Linked DNA regions of Homo sapiens: regions 1, 3, 4 and 5 are each linked to region 2. Evidence: promoter capture Hi-C in human tissues and cell types (Jung and others, 2019). All regions are on one chromosome and are shown on one strand. The core of a region is centred on a gene start or on the middle of the fragment in contact, and the rest is flanking DNA. Distances in the headings are between cores, read along the strand shown. Region 1 overlaps ASTN1 (astrotactin 1). Region 2 holds the start of BRINP2 (BMP/retinoic acid inducible neural specific 2). Region 3 overlaps ASTN1 (astrotactin 1). Region 4 overlaps ASTN1 (astrotactin 1). Region 5 overlaps ASTN1 (astrotactin 1).

Region 1 (3,031 bases), core at 274-2,773, 170 kb after region 2:
TTTGTATCTTTAAGAGAGGCAGCAGAACGTAATGGGAAGAACACAACCTTGGAATCAGATGGACTTGGATTCAAATCTCATTTCATCTTCTTAAAAGCCCTGTGTTTTTGGCTAGCCTCATAACCTTTATGAGCCTTATTTCTTAAAAATGAGAATAATAGTATCTACTTCATAGATTTGTTATAAAGATTATTTTAAAAACCTAAATGAGATGAGTTGTGCTCAATAATATTACATGAAGTATGTAGGTACTCAATAAGTGATGGCCTGTTCACATTGATGATGCTTTGCATTGGTCACAGCCTCATTTGTGTTCTTTGAACTTTCACCAAATGATGTCAACCTTAATGTCAATTTGGCATTTGAGTTTAGAGTAACCTACTTCTAGAATGTAAATTCCATGAAGGCAGAAACAATGTCTCTTATGTAAAATTGCACTGTCATACCTTAATACACTGTCTGGAACATAGTGGATGTTCCAGAAGTACTTGCTAAATAAGAAATGTGTTTGTCTTCCCATGGTCTTTCATAAGCAATACCTAAGAATAATAGTAGCTACCACCTTTCAAGTATTACCAAGTCTGGGGGTGGTTTGGGCAGAACATCCACAGACCTCTGTTTTCTGAACCTAATTGGATCTTTAAATTATCTCATGGAGTGGTGAATCACCTCCCTAATTTCAGGAAGTAAGAGTAGGAATACCAGCTGAATCGCTGACAATTCTAGACACATAGAGGTGGAAGCCCACCTCAAGGTCATAATATCCAATCTGCCACCCATTGTAGAAATCCCTCCTACAGCCATTTCATCAGATGGCTGCCCAACCACTGTTTGAACACTCTTGGTAATGTGGGCTACATTATTTGAAGAGGCAACTCATTCCATCATTGTAATGCAGATTCTTAGACAGTTCTTTAGGCTGAGCAAAAATATGTTTTCCTGTAACTTGCATTTGTTTGGTCAGCTCCGTCCTTTGGAGCAATAAAGAATATGCTGATTTCCTACTTCTACGCTCAGGACTGCTGCCATATATAGTACCTTTGTGTGCATTAGAAAAATATACTCATCTACTGTAAAGTGTGGGATAGACGTCTGTGAGCAAATAGGACCACTATATACAGGCTGGCTACATGTTAATGTCTCAGATAATTGTGTATAGGATGATGTCTCTGCTGGCTCTTCTCTTCTAAATAGAGCTTGTTCCTTCAACTATTCTTTAGATCATAAGTTTTATGAGTCTCTTAAAGATCCTACTAGCTGTCTTTTGCATGTCCCTAGTTTGTCATTATGCCTTTTAGACTATGTTGCCCAGGACTGTTCAAATCACTATGTAAAATATGGCATGCCTGTTTCTTCCCCTGTATTTTCTATTAGTGAATTCTAAGCTAAGCTTGTGCTAGGATCTTTAAGAAAAGTCATGACGTTTGCTTATAGTAAGTTTGTGGTCAATTAAAGATCTTTCCTGCAGGAACTGTTGTCAAAAAGGCAAAGTGTATTCAAGACTGAAGTCAATTGTCTTCTTAACCTAGGTATAGGTCTTATATAAAATCATATTAAATTTTAGCTTTATCCCATTGAAATCCTTTGAATCTTGACTTTGTGATCCCATGTATTAGCTATCCCTTCTTCTTTATGTAATTTGCCAATTTAATTAACATACATTCGTATTACTCCATTCTCTTGCTGCTGTAAAGAAATACCTGAGCATGGGTAATTTATACAAAAAGAGGTTTAATTGACTCACAGTTCCACATGGCTGGGGAGGCCTCAGGAATCTTATAAACATGGTGGATGGCACCTCTTTACAGTGGCAGGAGAGAGAATAAGTGCCAGCAGGGGAAATGCCAGACACATAAAACCATCAAATCTTGTGAGAACCCACTCACTATCCCGAGAACAATATGGGGAAACTGCCCCCATGATTCAATTACCTCCCACCGGGTCCCTCCCCATACTGACATGTGTGTATTTTGGGAATTACAAGATGACATTTTGGGTGGGGACACAGCCAAACCATATCACCTTCAGTCACCTCGAAGTCACTGACAAAATTGTTAAAGAAAGCAAGATCAAGCCCTGCTTCACTTAGAGATCTTCCTGAAGGTTGAACTTAACCCCTTACTCAAAACTTCTTGGCTATGCTTGTTCAATTCCACATGAATTCATCAAGTATACTGATGATCATTGAACATATTTCCATCTAGTCCATTTCAAAGATTTCATCCTGTCTGGACCAGAAGGGGCATTTAATACATTTTCTAAACCAGTTAGTGCATGCTTTTCTAAAAATCAAAGATGACATCAGTGCCAACCTGGAGAAGTCTCCATAAATGGCCATGGCCCTAGCTTGGGATTTTGTCTTGTTAGTGAATCGATTGTAGCTCCTAGACATCTTTGGATTCTTTATTGTTTTAAAGAATTGATCCATCCTCTTTCTCTGGAGAAGGCAAAGCTGTTGAGATTTTGCCTCCACAGTCTCCATGTGTCTCTTAGGCCTTGTCTTTCTCTAAGCCATGTAGTTTTATGTCATTTAGAGTCTTGCTTTAAAAGGAGTTCTGATGGCAGGACCCTCAATAGTTTTTTATTTGATAAGTGAAGGTGAAGACAATAATAATAGGTAATAATTTACTGTCAGTTTACTCTGTGCCTAGCACACTTCTAAGAGTTCTACATATTTTAATCTAACCACAACTATGTGAGGCTATCCCCTCTTTATAGGTAGGAAACTAAGGCACAAGGAAGTTTGGTACCTTGCCCAAAGGTTACACCCATAGAAAGTGGCATCATTTGGGATTCAAGCCTAGGCATTCTGACTGGAGTCCATGCACTAAAACCGTCACGGTGCCGCCTGGCACAGAAGGCAGTACACTCTATGGATAAGCAGTTTTGTGGGTGACAAGAGGCCCCCATTTTATGTCTTGCTCTCCCTCTCACATCCTCCTTTGAAATGCGGGGTAATGTGAGTCAGACAGCTGAGCTCACTGTGTGCACAGCGGTCGGGTGGGTGAAGTTCCCTCTAGAGGATTGCCCT
Region 2 (2,800 bases), core at 174-2,673:
ATACCAGCACATCCCACCTTTCAGCACAGCAATGTTCTTCCCTAGTGTCTCCAGTGCTCTGCCAGGCTCAAGTCAATCAATGGGGCTTCTGCCACCACCCTGGGGAGACTATTTGCAACCTACAGGGTTCACTGTTTGGAATTTTATTTTCCTGACTGCATGTGCATGGGAAACATGCCATAGGGCTCTATGAGCACGATAATATAGATATCGTGCATTGTAACCTCAGCTCTTTGGGCTCCTTCCCAAACATAATGAACCTCCCAGCGTCAGCTGGGCAGGCAAAAGTCCTCGTCATCTTCTGCAATTATGCAGCCCTATTGAATTTTCTGAAGCTAATAGGAGTTGCACTAACTTTGAGGACTTAAACCAGGCAAAAGCAATATAGGTCAGGCAGGGAGCCCAAACCCTCTGACAGCCATGCAACACCAGGAGGCAATACCAGAGCAATCTCTAGCTCAACCCCAAAGTCCATTGCTCAACTCCACAAGACAGAAACTAGGAGAGGTGGCATCATTCCCTCTGCCTGCCACTGCCAGGCACCAGGGCAAGAGGGTTGTATGAGAGCAAAATGGTCCCTTTACCAACGGACACACCAAAAAGGACAATGAAAAGGGGAGAAAAATCACCGAAACCCTGCACTGTTACCTTGAATCCTTGCAAGAGCCCTCCTTGCTGTATCAGCTGCTCCCCAAACCTTCAACGACTGGGAGGAGACTCCTAAAAGATTCCAGGTTTTTGTGCAACATCTCCAGTGGCAGCTTTCCAAAGTTTTTACTTCATGATTTCTTGTGGTTCTTTCTCATTTGGGGAAACGCGAATGCCTCCCCCTCAGCGTGTGAGAGGGAGCGGATGTCTCTTTTCAAATTCTCTTGCTCCCCGCTTTACTGTCGGTGCCGCCGCCGCCGCCACCGCCACCGCCGCCAACGTTAGACCACTTGCCTGCTGCCTTCCCGCTGAGCAGCCAGGATCCCGGTCTCCCAGAGCATCTTTGAAGTGGGGCTTCGGCACTGGGCCGGGGCGCACGCGGGGTGGGAGAGGTAAGGGAAGTGCAAGACCCAACTGGGGGAGTCCCCTGTCCCTCCGCCGAGGAGAAACCCAAGATTTTGCCTTCTTTCCAACTCTAAAGAGACTCACCCACCCGCTCTCTCACCCGAAATCACTGCCTTGCACATGGGCAGAGACAGGTCTTCCGGCTTCACCGCTCCCTCGGCTGCCTGCAGACCTGCCACTGACCTCGGAGCGCACGGCAGGTGCACATCCCCGGGCAAGTCCTAATGGGATCCTCCGAGCTCAGCGTAAGCGCTGCCAGCGCAGCGGCGAGCAGCTTGCGAGGCAGGCGGATTGCATCCCAGAGCTGCAGCCCGGCGCGTCCCCGCTCCGACTCCGCGCTCCGTACCTAAGCAGTGTCACCTGCAGACTCAGACACCAGATGAGTGTCTTAAGATAACAATGCTGCCCTGCCTGCCTCTCTCTTTCTTTCTTATGCATGTAGGTTGGCAGCCAATGGGACACAGCGCCACACTCCCCACAGGTGCCCATTGGCTGGGCGGCTTGGCAGGGGGCGGGCTCTGAGCCTCACCGCTCTCTCCTTTGGTGAGCTGGCAGGCTGGGGTACCAGCTCTGTTAACCCTCCCAGCGTTGCAGTGGGGACTTTTTGGTGTGTATAAGGAAGCCTTGGGTACATTCACGGGTGGGGCGTTGGACACTCTTAAAAAGGCTGGGGAACAAGAAGTAGCTGGGGAGCTAATTACATTTTCTTCTAATCTTCCTGAGTTACAATAATCATTTATCCCAGCCCATTTTGTTTGCTTGCTTAACTAGAACTCCCAGAGATTGGGACCCATCTGAGCCATTTTCCATCTAATTTGAGGTTTCATTTGGTTGTTTTGTGCATTTTTTAGCCTCTTGGATTACTTAATTAGAAATGAGCCCCCAAGTGAGAAATAGTACACACACACACACACACACACACACACACACACACCCCAGAGACCCAAGAGGAGAGAGAGGCAAAAGAGAGCAAGAACCCAGTAAGATGGCTAGAGAGTGAAACAGATTTAGAGGCCAGGACAGCTAAATCAGGAAACATTCTGCCCCCACACCAGGACTGTAAGGACAAAGGCAAAGAGGAGAACTTCAGGTTTCTGGGGAGAGATTAAGTTTCAAAAATGTCCCTCCAAAAAAGGGAATTGTTTTGCCTGTGGTGTTTTCCCTCTGTGTGTCTCCTTTCACTTCTGTGTGTGTCAGGAAGAGGGACTGTGCATCTCCGTTTAGTTTTTAAAGGAAGACTAGAGAAATCAGAACAGGACCAGCCTTGTTTCTGTGAAGCAGGTGCTGTTGCTGGGCCTGTGAATTGAAAGAGAGGGAGGGAGGAAAAAAGGGAGGGAGGTGGAGGGAAAAGGGAGGAAAGGAGAAGGGAAGAAAATATTAACTTTACATTGAAGTGTGAAGTATATATTTTTGATATCCTAATGAGGGTACAAAACTGAAACATGTCCCGCTAACTAGCATACTAAACTAGATTTTGGCAGGAGCATAGGAAAAAGAGTAATAGTTGAAGAAAAATCCAATTCAAGGGAAGAGCTGGGGGCTGGAGCTGGGGAAGGAACTTGGGAGATCCATGCTAAGTCATGTGGTGGGGGAAGTATGAAGAAGATAAATATATAGTCAGAAAGCGAGAGGAGTCTTTCAATTTAGTTTCCTTAAATGGAGAGCAACATCGGAGATTATTTTGTAAAGAACTAGAAAAAAAAAGTATGTAGAGATTTAATGAATGTGTAAGAAGTACACATGGAGA
Region 3 (2,848 bases), core at 129-2,628, 150 kb after region 2:
CTTTTTTCACTTAACATTCCATCATAACTTTTCCAGAATCATTAAATAATCCTCAAACACATAATTTTAATGGCCATTTGGTATTCCGTTGTATGTCTATATCATAGCTCATTTAAACAGTCCCCTATTATTTGACATTTAGGATGCTTTAAATTTTTATTTTTATAAATACTATTAAAATGAACATCTTTACACATAAATGCTGGACACATTTGAAGTTATTTTCTTCAGATAAATCTTAGTGAGAGAGTACTGGGTCAAAGAGTAGGAACGTCTTCAAGTCTGTTATACTATCAAATGGAGCTGGGGTTTCCCTGAGGGAGGGTTCAAATTCTAGTGTGGCATGAATTAGAGCTCTCCCATTGCTCCTTGGGTTCCAACAAAGCCAGGAGCATGGATCTCTTATTTCAGTTTGCTTTGCACTTTCACTGAAGAAGACATTCACCTACAGTAGTCTCTATGATGGCTTGTTTTTGGTAAATTGAGTACCACAAATAGATCCTTCCCAAAGTAGTATGATCCCTTAGAGCAAAGGAAAGCGTTAAAGTGATATCTAAGATTCCCAAGCTAAACGTTGCTGGAGTTGGGGCCCAAACCCTGAAGCTTTTTGTACAGCATGTGCAGCCACCCCCCGCCAACCCCCTCTACCCCAGCCCACCACACTCGCATCTTCTTCAGGTGCTGAGGTAGAGAGATCTTAATAGAGGATGAGTCTAAGATATCTAGCCCTTACTTCTGTTATAATCTATGACTAGATCCCTCTGGGAGAGTAGCAGGTAACTGAAACATCTAAAATTCACCATCTTAGGTGTTAAAGTTGTTTTATGTGGGCCCATCACAGAGATTCTAGGCCCCCATATGGAGGAGAAAGTACAACATTTTAAACATCTGAAGTCTAAGACTGTGCTTACTTGCTGCTCCTCCCACGCTGTCAGGCAAACACCAAACCAAACAGATGGGCTGTGTACCATGCCCAAAAGCTAGTATGCTTGGGAGAAATTAAAAAGAGCTAATCTCAGAGGTGGGGGCTCTCCATGCAACTGAGCTAGTCTCTGGTACCCTAGTTCTCCAGCTGGCTTGGATTGGAAGGATTTGGGACAATCTCAGTTGTTAAACTCACTTCTGAGAGAAGCTTGATCCCCGGGGGGAGCTTTGGATGCTCCTACTTGGATTTTAAAGAAAAGGAAGCACACCTTCAGTTACATGTGAAAAGAAGGGATTGGTGCTTTAGGCTTGGAGGGGTCTCAATGATAAACTGCCTCTATGCTTTACATTCACATTTGAATTCCTTAAGAAGTTACACGATTTGCCCAAAGTCCCACAGCTACCTAAAGCAGAGTCTGTGTTTTATTTATCATGAAATCTGCAAAGGTGGGATTATAAAGGTTGCTTAATTTCCCCAGACATGTCAGATCCAACATAGTTGTCATTCAAAACTATTTAAAAAACAACCATTACTAAGCATTACTGTTCCATGTGCCAGGAAGCTGCTTGTCTACAGCAAAGCTCTCCCATCAACTCTTCAGTCCCTTCCAGATGTCTCATTTCTAATCCCTGCTGAAAATGACTTTGGGAAGCCCCTCCCCTGCTAATAGCTTCTCAATGTCTGTGACCATGAATGAATTTCCTATTGGAAAGACACAGAGGAAGACTAAAAATAATCTCCCAAACCCCAAGACAAAACTAAGGTGCAGCATCTTCATTTTGGATAGCAGCTGAGAAACAATACTGCAAAGACTCTCATTTTCATGAATGCTGGAATTGGAAAGCATTGGTGATGTGGTCATCCCACATGCTCATCAGTAAGAAACTTTATCGCCTCCCACACTCTATCCCAGAGCCTTTCTCCAAAGAGCTGAGTGTGGGAATTGGCTTCAAGTCAAGTCGACGTTATTTTTGAAATCCTCTAGCTAGCTTACTTGGAAATGTCATAGTGTTGGGACATGTGCTTTCCCAGCCATACTGAGGGGTCTGCCCATATGGATGCATGGAGCTGTGCAGTGCACTTGTGTACTTTTACACACACACACACACAAACACACAAACACAGATGCTCAGTCACTGCAAAGGAGCAGCCTCCTGGTGCCAGAGCTCTCCTCAGGCATCCTTCCTAAGAGCATCCCCAAGTGAGTCTCTGTTTACCTGTCACCTGCACCATGCTTCAGAACACCAGGTGTGAGAGACACAATAATGCACTCCCAAAAATGTCCACATTCTCATCTCCAGGACCTGTGAATGTGTCACGTTACATGGCAAAGGAGAATTAGTGATGCATATGGAATGGAGGTTGCTAAACAACTGGCTTTAAAACAGGGAGATTTGGGGGGAAGATTATCTGAGTGGTCAAAATGTAATCACAAGCATTCTTAGAAGTGAAATAGGGAGGCAGAAAAGGAGGTCAGAGTGAGGTGATGTGAGGAGGACTCAAGCAGCCATTACAGACTTTGAATATGGAGGAAGGAGGCATGAGCCAAGGAATGTCAGCAGCCTCTAGAAGCTGGAAAAGGCAAGAACACAGAAAATAGATTCTCCCGGGTGCCTCCAGAAGGCAACATAGCTCTATAGACGCCTTGATTTTAGCCCAGTGAAACTCATGTTAAACTTCTGGTAAGATAATAAATGTATGTTGTTTTAAACCACTTTCTTTGTGGTATGCTTTTACTGTAGGAATAGAAAACTTATACACTAAGGAAGGAGAGAAAAGATAGGCCAGGCGTGGCAGCTCACACCTATAATCCCAGCACTTTGGGAGGCTAAGGGAGGCAGATTGCTTGAGCCCAGGAATTCAAGATCAGCCTGGACAACATGGCATAAACCCCATCTCTAATAAAAATACAAAAAATTAAAC
Region 4 (3,001 bases), core at 364-2,863, 190 kb after region 2:
TCACTGAAACAAACAACTAAATAAATACATCACAAGTACTTACAGATTGTGAAAAATACAAGGGGGTAAAAAGACAGGGAGGAGTGGACTAACCTGAAATGGGGGAACCGGGGCCTCTCTGAGGCAGTGTGTTTAAGTTGACACTGAAAGATGAGAAAGGACCAACCAGGTCAGAAGGGAGGGAAAGAGCTTTCCAGGCCTAGGGCACCCTGGATGGCCCTGGAATGGGAGAAAGCCAGGCCCCTTCTAGGGACTGTCAGCCACCATTGCTCTTATCATCATAGATGATAGCCACCATTGCTACATCATCATAACAGGGAGAGAGAGGCAATGGGCAAGGTTGGTGTGGTAGGCAAGGGCTAGAGCATGCAGGAGTCTTGATGACCAGGGTGAGGATTTAAAGCATGGAAGTTCCATGATCCCCCTATAGCCCAGGGCTTAACCCTTACTTTCTCAGAGAGGCTCCCCTTCACCATACATGCTCCAGGACTGTTTCCCTTCTTCAGAGCACTTTCCTCAACGTGTGGTTATATATTCACGAACTCCCTTTAACAGACCCCCATCAGTTTTGCTTCTGTTCACCTCTGTATCCCCAGAGTACAGAGCTTGGCCATGCCAGCTGCTGAATGCATATTTTCTGAACAAATGAGTGAATATTTCCTCATTTCTCTTAGGTATGATTTTTGGCAATTCAGCCTCTCTGAGCCTCAGTGAGTTTATCTATACAATAGGAATATTAAGTGATCAGTCACTGGACTTGCTTTTACTGTCTTCTGTTTCTGTGTCCTTTATGTTGACTCCCAGTCTTTATCTTTGTACTTGCCTCTCTTCTAAATGTCAGCTCTGCTTAGCTAGCTACCTGCCGCACACCTTGCCAGACGTTCACAGATAACACTCAGCCTTTTCAGTTCAACCTTATCATTTCTTGCCCCACTAGACCCTCCCCTTACCCCCACACACATAAAATCATCCTCTGGAACTACTTGTTTCTATTCATGGCAAAATCATTCTCCTAGTCCTTCTAGCTCAAAACTCTGAGGCCATCTTACACTATTTCCTCTTCCTCGACCACTGCTTAAAATATCTTCCAAGAAATTCTGCCTAAGAATTGCCCTTCTCTTCCAAATCCACGTCTTCCCACTGAATTCAGATCCTAAGTACTCATTTTACCTTGATTGCAAAAGGCTTCTCTACTGGTTCCTCTCCCTCTGGGTTTCTCTTTCCCATTTATCTTGCTTTCACAGAAGCAAAATCTTGGTGCTATCTTCCTGTATTCAAAGCCCATCAGTGGCTCCCCATTCGCTACCCAAGTATAGATTTGCTTTCAGGTACCATCATGTTATGGCTTTAATTTATTTTTTCCATCCCTGTGTATCCCACATTTCAGATGAACTGGTACCTTTGCTGTTTGTAATGTTCCATCACATCCACCCACCTCCATGCCTTTGGTCATACTATTATTTCTGCAGCAAACCTCCCTTCCTTCTGCACCTTCAATGCCTAGACTCAGTGCATCCTTCGAAGCTTAAAGCTTATCTAAAATAGCTCTTCCTGACTGAGCCTTTTCCATGACCCTTGAACAGGATGTGATTTCTTCTTCCTCTGAACCCACTCACTCCCATTTCACTTGCGATCTCTTCCACCCTGCCTGGAAATGAGGATGTCACCCCAAGTCATTAGCCTTCAGCCAGTGCAGCCCAGTGACTCTCCTTAGTTCTTCTGCAGGAGTGGGTACTGATAACTCACAGACGTCTTTGCCAGGGTTCTGGTGTCTGAGAGCTCTGGGCTTGAGCCCTGGCTCTGCTGCTTGTTAGCTATGAGACTTTGGCTTATGTTATTTAATTTCTCTAGGCCTCACTTTCCCCACCTGTTAAATAAGACTAATATAACAGCTGTGCCTCAGAGGGTCTTATGAGAATTAAGTGAAAAAAAGTACTTGGCTCACTGACTAGTATAAATGCATAAAAAGTAATAGCTTTTACTTGTTCAATCATCAAAATTGACAAAATAAATGCCATAGTTTCTCTACTTGCCATCCTTGTTTCATCGGCTCCTGATCCAGGACAAGGACCCGGCCTTTTATCTGTGTAGCCCAGTGCTCTCCATAGCACCTGTCTCATCAGAGGTGAGTGATAAACACTTGAGGAATGAATCAGTGCGTTAATGACATTCTTCATAGCAGAAAATGTGTATTAATCATTTCTGTGTCCCTTGACTGTATTTAGCCAAATGTTTTTTTATATGGAAACTGGATAATATTTTTTAAGTAAACAGATAAATGAAGAAATGAATGAGTGATTGAATTAATAGTGAAACTTGCTAAATATATGTTGAATTTAAACAGATTAGTAGATAGAAAAAGACTTTGGGAAAAGGATAAAAGCTCTATACTAAATATAGTTCCTTAATGGATATTTTATTCTTCCCCGGTTTCCTTATTTTGTCAATTTTTCCTGACATAAAATCACAGAAATGTAGGAAGCTATGTTTTCTATTGTACATCCTGTCCCTTATTATTCACTGTCTCTTGTGCTAGTACTGTTCATTCTCCTACCTTGTCACTGGAATTTAATGTGAGCGTCTGTGGTGGAGGAGGAGGCCCCAGGTTTGCACCGTACTTAGTACAGGGATGTAACATTCAGTCGTGAATATGTGTTAAACTGTTTTTCTTGTACAGGGATGGATTTGCACAGGTCCATTGCCAAGCTCTTGTCCTGTTCATTTGTGAGCAAAGATGGGTGTCCGGGGACACATGGCAGACTGTGCCCATTGACGGGAGTAAGCGAGCTGAACAAGCTTTCAGGACCACTGAACTTGAGACCTTGGCTATATGAGCCCAGGGTAAAAGTCAACTGAGCCTTGAGATGCAGAACCAGAGAGAAGTGGAGGGAGGAAGACAGTAGTTACTATTATCACCATTTTACAGAAAAAGGAAACTGAAGCTTGGAAAGGTCAAATATCTTTAGCTGTATCAGTTGCATGAAGTTAGCAAGAGACTTGA
Region 5 (3,217 bases), core at 13-2,512, 130 kb after region 2:
TACCCCTGACCTTGGGTCATTGGTATTTAGACAAAACAGGAGACATGAGCTACCAAACTCTTGTATGTGATTCCTATTTTGTAACCACTATTTAATTCCTCAAGGAATATAATTTGAATTCAGTATGTCTAGTTGCCTTGAGGAGTAATTAATTCTGTCTCAGATTCCCTCTTCTTCTTACTCCTAAGGTAAAAGTAAGCTTTGAAATGTGAGCTGATTGATTGGCTGTAGTCTCTTGACAGATGGTAGCTGGAAGCATAATCTCAGCTTTTCCATTTCTCTGCCAAGGGTTCAGAAAGCCCAGGTGACTCTCTAAACTTGGTGACATTTAATAGATCCAGATTCTTTTATTCGAAGATTTATTGATTATGTGACACTGATTTGAGAAGGATTCCACTGGTCCATGGGGGTGTTACCAGAGTATTACCTCTAGCCCAAGATATCTTCATCTACCAGTTTCTTTGGTTTGAAGAAGAGAAGTAATGATGGGCCAGCACCTGTGATCTGTTTTTGTCTTCCTTTTATGCCTGTGTTTATCTTTAAAAACCAAATTATGTAGATTAATTTCTTTAACTAAAATATAAACTCCATGAGATCAGGAACCATACGTGTGTTATTCACCGCATTATCTTCATAACAGTGACCACTGAAAAAAAATGCCTTGCTAAAGTAGGTATCAGTAAGTGTTTATTGAATGATTTAGTAATAAATTGAATAAATGAGTCACCCAAGCAGCTGACTTATATAAGATTAGCTTGTAGGCACAGAGAAGATGACCATATTGAAATATATTGAAAGTTGATGATGCTTCTTCCTTTTCTTCCTTTTTTCTTCCTTCTCTTCCTCCCTCTTTGCTTCCCTCCTTCCCTTCCTTCTTTCCTTCCTCCCTCTTTATTTCTTCTTTCTCCTCTCCCTTCCTTCCTCTGTCCCACAATTATTGACCATCTGCTTTATGCCAGGCGCTGCGTTTTAACCTGGAGCTATAAAAGAGATAGATTAGACATGGCCTCTGCCCCATGGCCCCTGCCCCCTATAGTCTAGCAAATGAGATAGACAAGAAAATCAAAGGTAAATGTACTTGTGGTTAGAGTTATGTGGAGGGTTCTATGGAAAGTGCAGTGAGACTAGAGAAGGGTTAGCTGAAGTCGTGTCACTGAACTGACTTTGAAGGATGAGTAGGAGTTAGCTGAAGGAGGGAGGTATGACCCAGGACCCAGGATGAATATACAGGTCAGATAATGAGACAGTCTTGTGGTTGGTCCAGAGGACTGGGATAAGCATAAAGGAGAGATCTGCTTAGAATTTTCCATCCTTCGGCAATTACCAAAAATGTTATGTAACACATTGTTACATAAAAATTCTAAAATCTACAAATTATCTGACAAATCTCATACTATTCTCTTAAGTAAGTGCTGAAAATGTCAATTTCATAATAAAATAAAAGCTGACTTCATTTGTGTGGTATCTATTACAGCCAGTAGAAATGATTTATTGATTTTTAAAAAGAAAAATGTATTTTAAAATGCCACATTTTTTTGCAAGGAACTCGTTAATAGATGTGGGTTTCTCATATACCCCAAACACACTTCTAGTTACCAAATGTTAACAGTTTTGAGAAAAAAATCAATAGAATAATCAGAAAATTCATGCAAAGATGAATAATGAGCAAAGCAATTCCATGTTTTGCAGCCAGTGCTTACAGTCAGTGTTTCTTTTTTAATGTTCAGAGTTTACAACTTGTTACTTGTTGCCTGAATCCAGATATACTGTAATGTTTTGTCTTTGTTTTTCCAATGGCTATAAAAATTGGAGCTAACACAAATAAATGAAGAATACTTTCTGAACACAGCTAGGGTAAAACAGAAACTCAAAGCAAGACATGTGCATGTGAAGAACTTCTGTATGCTCTCTGTAAAGCCTTGTGTGTGTGATAACTGCCCATTCTGTTTCTCAGTGTGCTCATGAGCAGATGTTGAGTAGAGGTCTTTTTGGAGCTGAGAATCCAGAGGACAATTGTTGCTCCCAATAAGCTGTGTGAGATATGTGCATCTCGCCTTTCTCTTTTCGACTTGGCTATCAGGATGCTTCCAGCCATAGTCTTTGGCCTAGGGTTTCTTTCCATTCCATCTGCCCCCTTTTCATTTCGCTAGACTCTTTGAAAGGAAAATCCTACAGTATCCATGATATTTACTGAAACTGCTTAAAATTCTCTGCAAAAGTAGTAAGATTAAAAATAATGAAATTGGCTGGGCTCAGTTCCTCATACCTGTAATCCCACCACTTTGGGAGGCCGAGGCAAGTGGATTATTTGAAGCCAGAAGTTAGAGACCAGCCTCCCCGACATGGTCAAACCCTGTCTCTACTAAAAATACAAATATTAGCCAGGCATGGTGGTGCATGCCTGTAATCCCAGCTACTTGGGAGGTTGAGGTGAGAGAATCACTTGAACATGGGAGATGGAGGTTGCAGTGGGCCAAGATCACACCTCTGCACTCCAGCCTGGGTGACAGAGTGAGACCCTGTCTCAAAAAAAGAAAAAAAGAAAAAAAAGAAAGAAATTATCCAAGACCTATGGTTTATTGAAAAATGTAACAGTAACTGAATGTGAGCCAAGTCCTCACTGTAGAAGGACAGTTACCAAAGTGGCTAGACCCCTGCCTTTTCCTAGTGTAGTGGTGGGCCTATATTTTCTTCCTACGTGCTACCTGCTCAAGCAGGTAGAGCATTTCAGAGAAATTTATGTGTAGTGATTTTACAAATAATTATTACAAAATATTATTAAATAATGTCACATATTAATGTCACATCACATTACAGTATATTATTATTTATGTAATAGTCCACAATTAGTAAGCCATTGCAAAGTATTTTGACATCTGTCACCAATTTGAGTTACAGAAGCAGAGAACCCATACCACAACTTGAGTACCTGAGAATCCTTTTTCAAATGCTTGTGCTGAGTTTTACCTATTGGCTGAAGCTTATTCCTGGTAACTGATTATTAGAAAGCTGAGGTCGGCCGGGCACGGTGGCTCACACCTGTAATCCCAGCACTTTGGGAGGCTGAGGCGGGTGGATCACCTGAGGTCAGGAGTTTGAGACCAGCCTCAACATGGAGAAACCCCGTCTCTACTAAAAATACAAAATTAGCCGGGCGTGGTGGTGCATGCCTGTAATCCCAGCTACTCAGGAGGCTGAGGCAGGAGAATTGCTTGAA

What was found. Contacts are between HindIII fragments. The study calls those that stand out against the background at their distance.
Region 1: a contact is called between a fragment that was not itself captured here and the fragment with the promoter of BRINP2 in region 2, in 2 of the 25 tissues and cell types used here (dorsolateral prefrontal cortex and thymus).
Region 3: a fragment that was not itself captured here is called in contact with the fragment with the promoter of BRINP2 in region 2 in 2 of the 25 tissues and cell types used here (dorsolateral prefrontal cortex and hippocampus).
Region 4: a fragment that was not itself captured here is called in contact with the fragment with the promoter of BRINP2 in region 2 in 2 of the 25 tissues and cell types used here (dorsolateral prefrontal cortex and hippocampus).
Region 5: a contact is called between a fragment that was not itself captured here and the fragment with the promoter of BRINP2 in region 2, in 1 of the 25 tissues and cell types used here (dorsolateral prefrontal cortex).

What each region holds. Positions count from the first base shown.
Region 1 is chr1:176,998,629-177,001,659 of GRCh38, reverse strand. The region is part of intron 8 of ASTN1 (astrotactin 1); the gene reads left to right. Among named protein-coding and RNA genes, the nearest start is that of MIR488, 29 kb to the left of the region's middle. The HindIII fragment of the contact is 4,994 bases long and covers 1-3,031 here.
Region 2 is chr1:177,169,581-177,172,380 of GRCh38, reverse strand. BRINP2 (BMP/retinoic acid inducible neural specific 2) reads right to left here and starts at 1,423. Exons shown (of 8, transcript NM_021165.4): 1 at 649-1,423. RefSeq lists enhancers at 607-1,195, 1,196-1,785. The HindIII fragment of the contact is 8,375 bases long and covers 1-2,800 here.
Region 3 is chr1:177,020,047-177,022,894 of GRCh38, reverse strand. The region is part of intron 7 of ASTN1 (astrotactin 1); the gene reads left to right. Among named protein-coding and RNA genes, the nearest start is that of MIR488, 8.0 kb to the left of the region's middle. The HindIII fragment of the contact is 4,030 bases long and covers 1-2,848 here.
Region 4 is chr1:176,976,580-176,979,580 of GRCh38, reverse strand. The region is part of intron 8 of ASTN1 (astrotactin 1); the gene reads left to right. Among named protein-coding and RNA genes, the nearest start is that of MIR488, 51 kb to the left of the region's middle. The HindIII fragment of the contact is 4,223 bases long and covers 1-3,001 here.
Region 5 is chr1:177,036,147-177,039,363 of GRCh38, reverse strand. The region is part of intron 2 of ASTN1 (astrotactin 1); the gene reads left to right. Among named protein-coding and RNA genes, the nearest start is that of MIR488, 8.3 kb to the right of the region's middle. The HindIII fragment of the contact is 5,935 bases long and covers 1-3,217 here.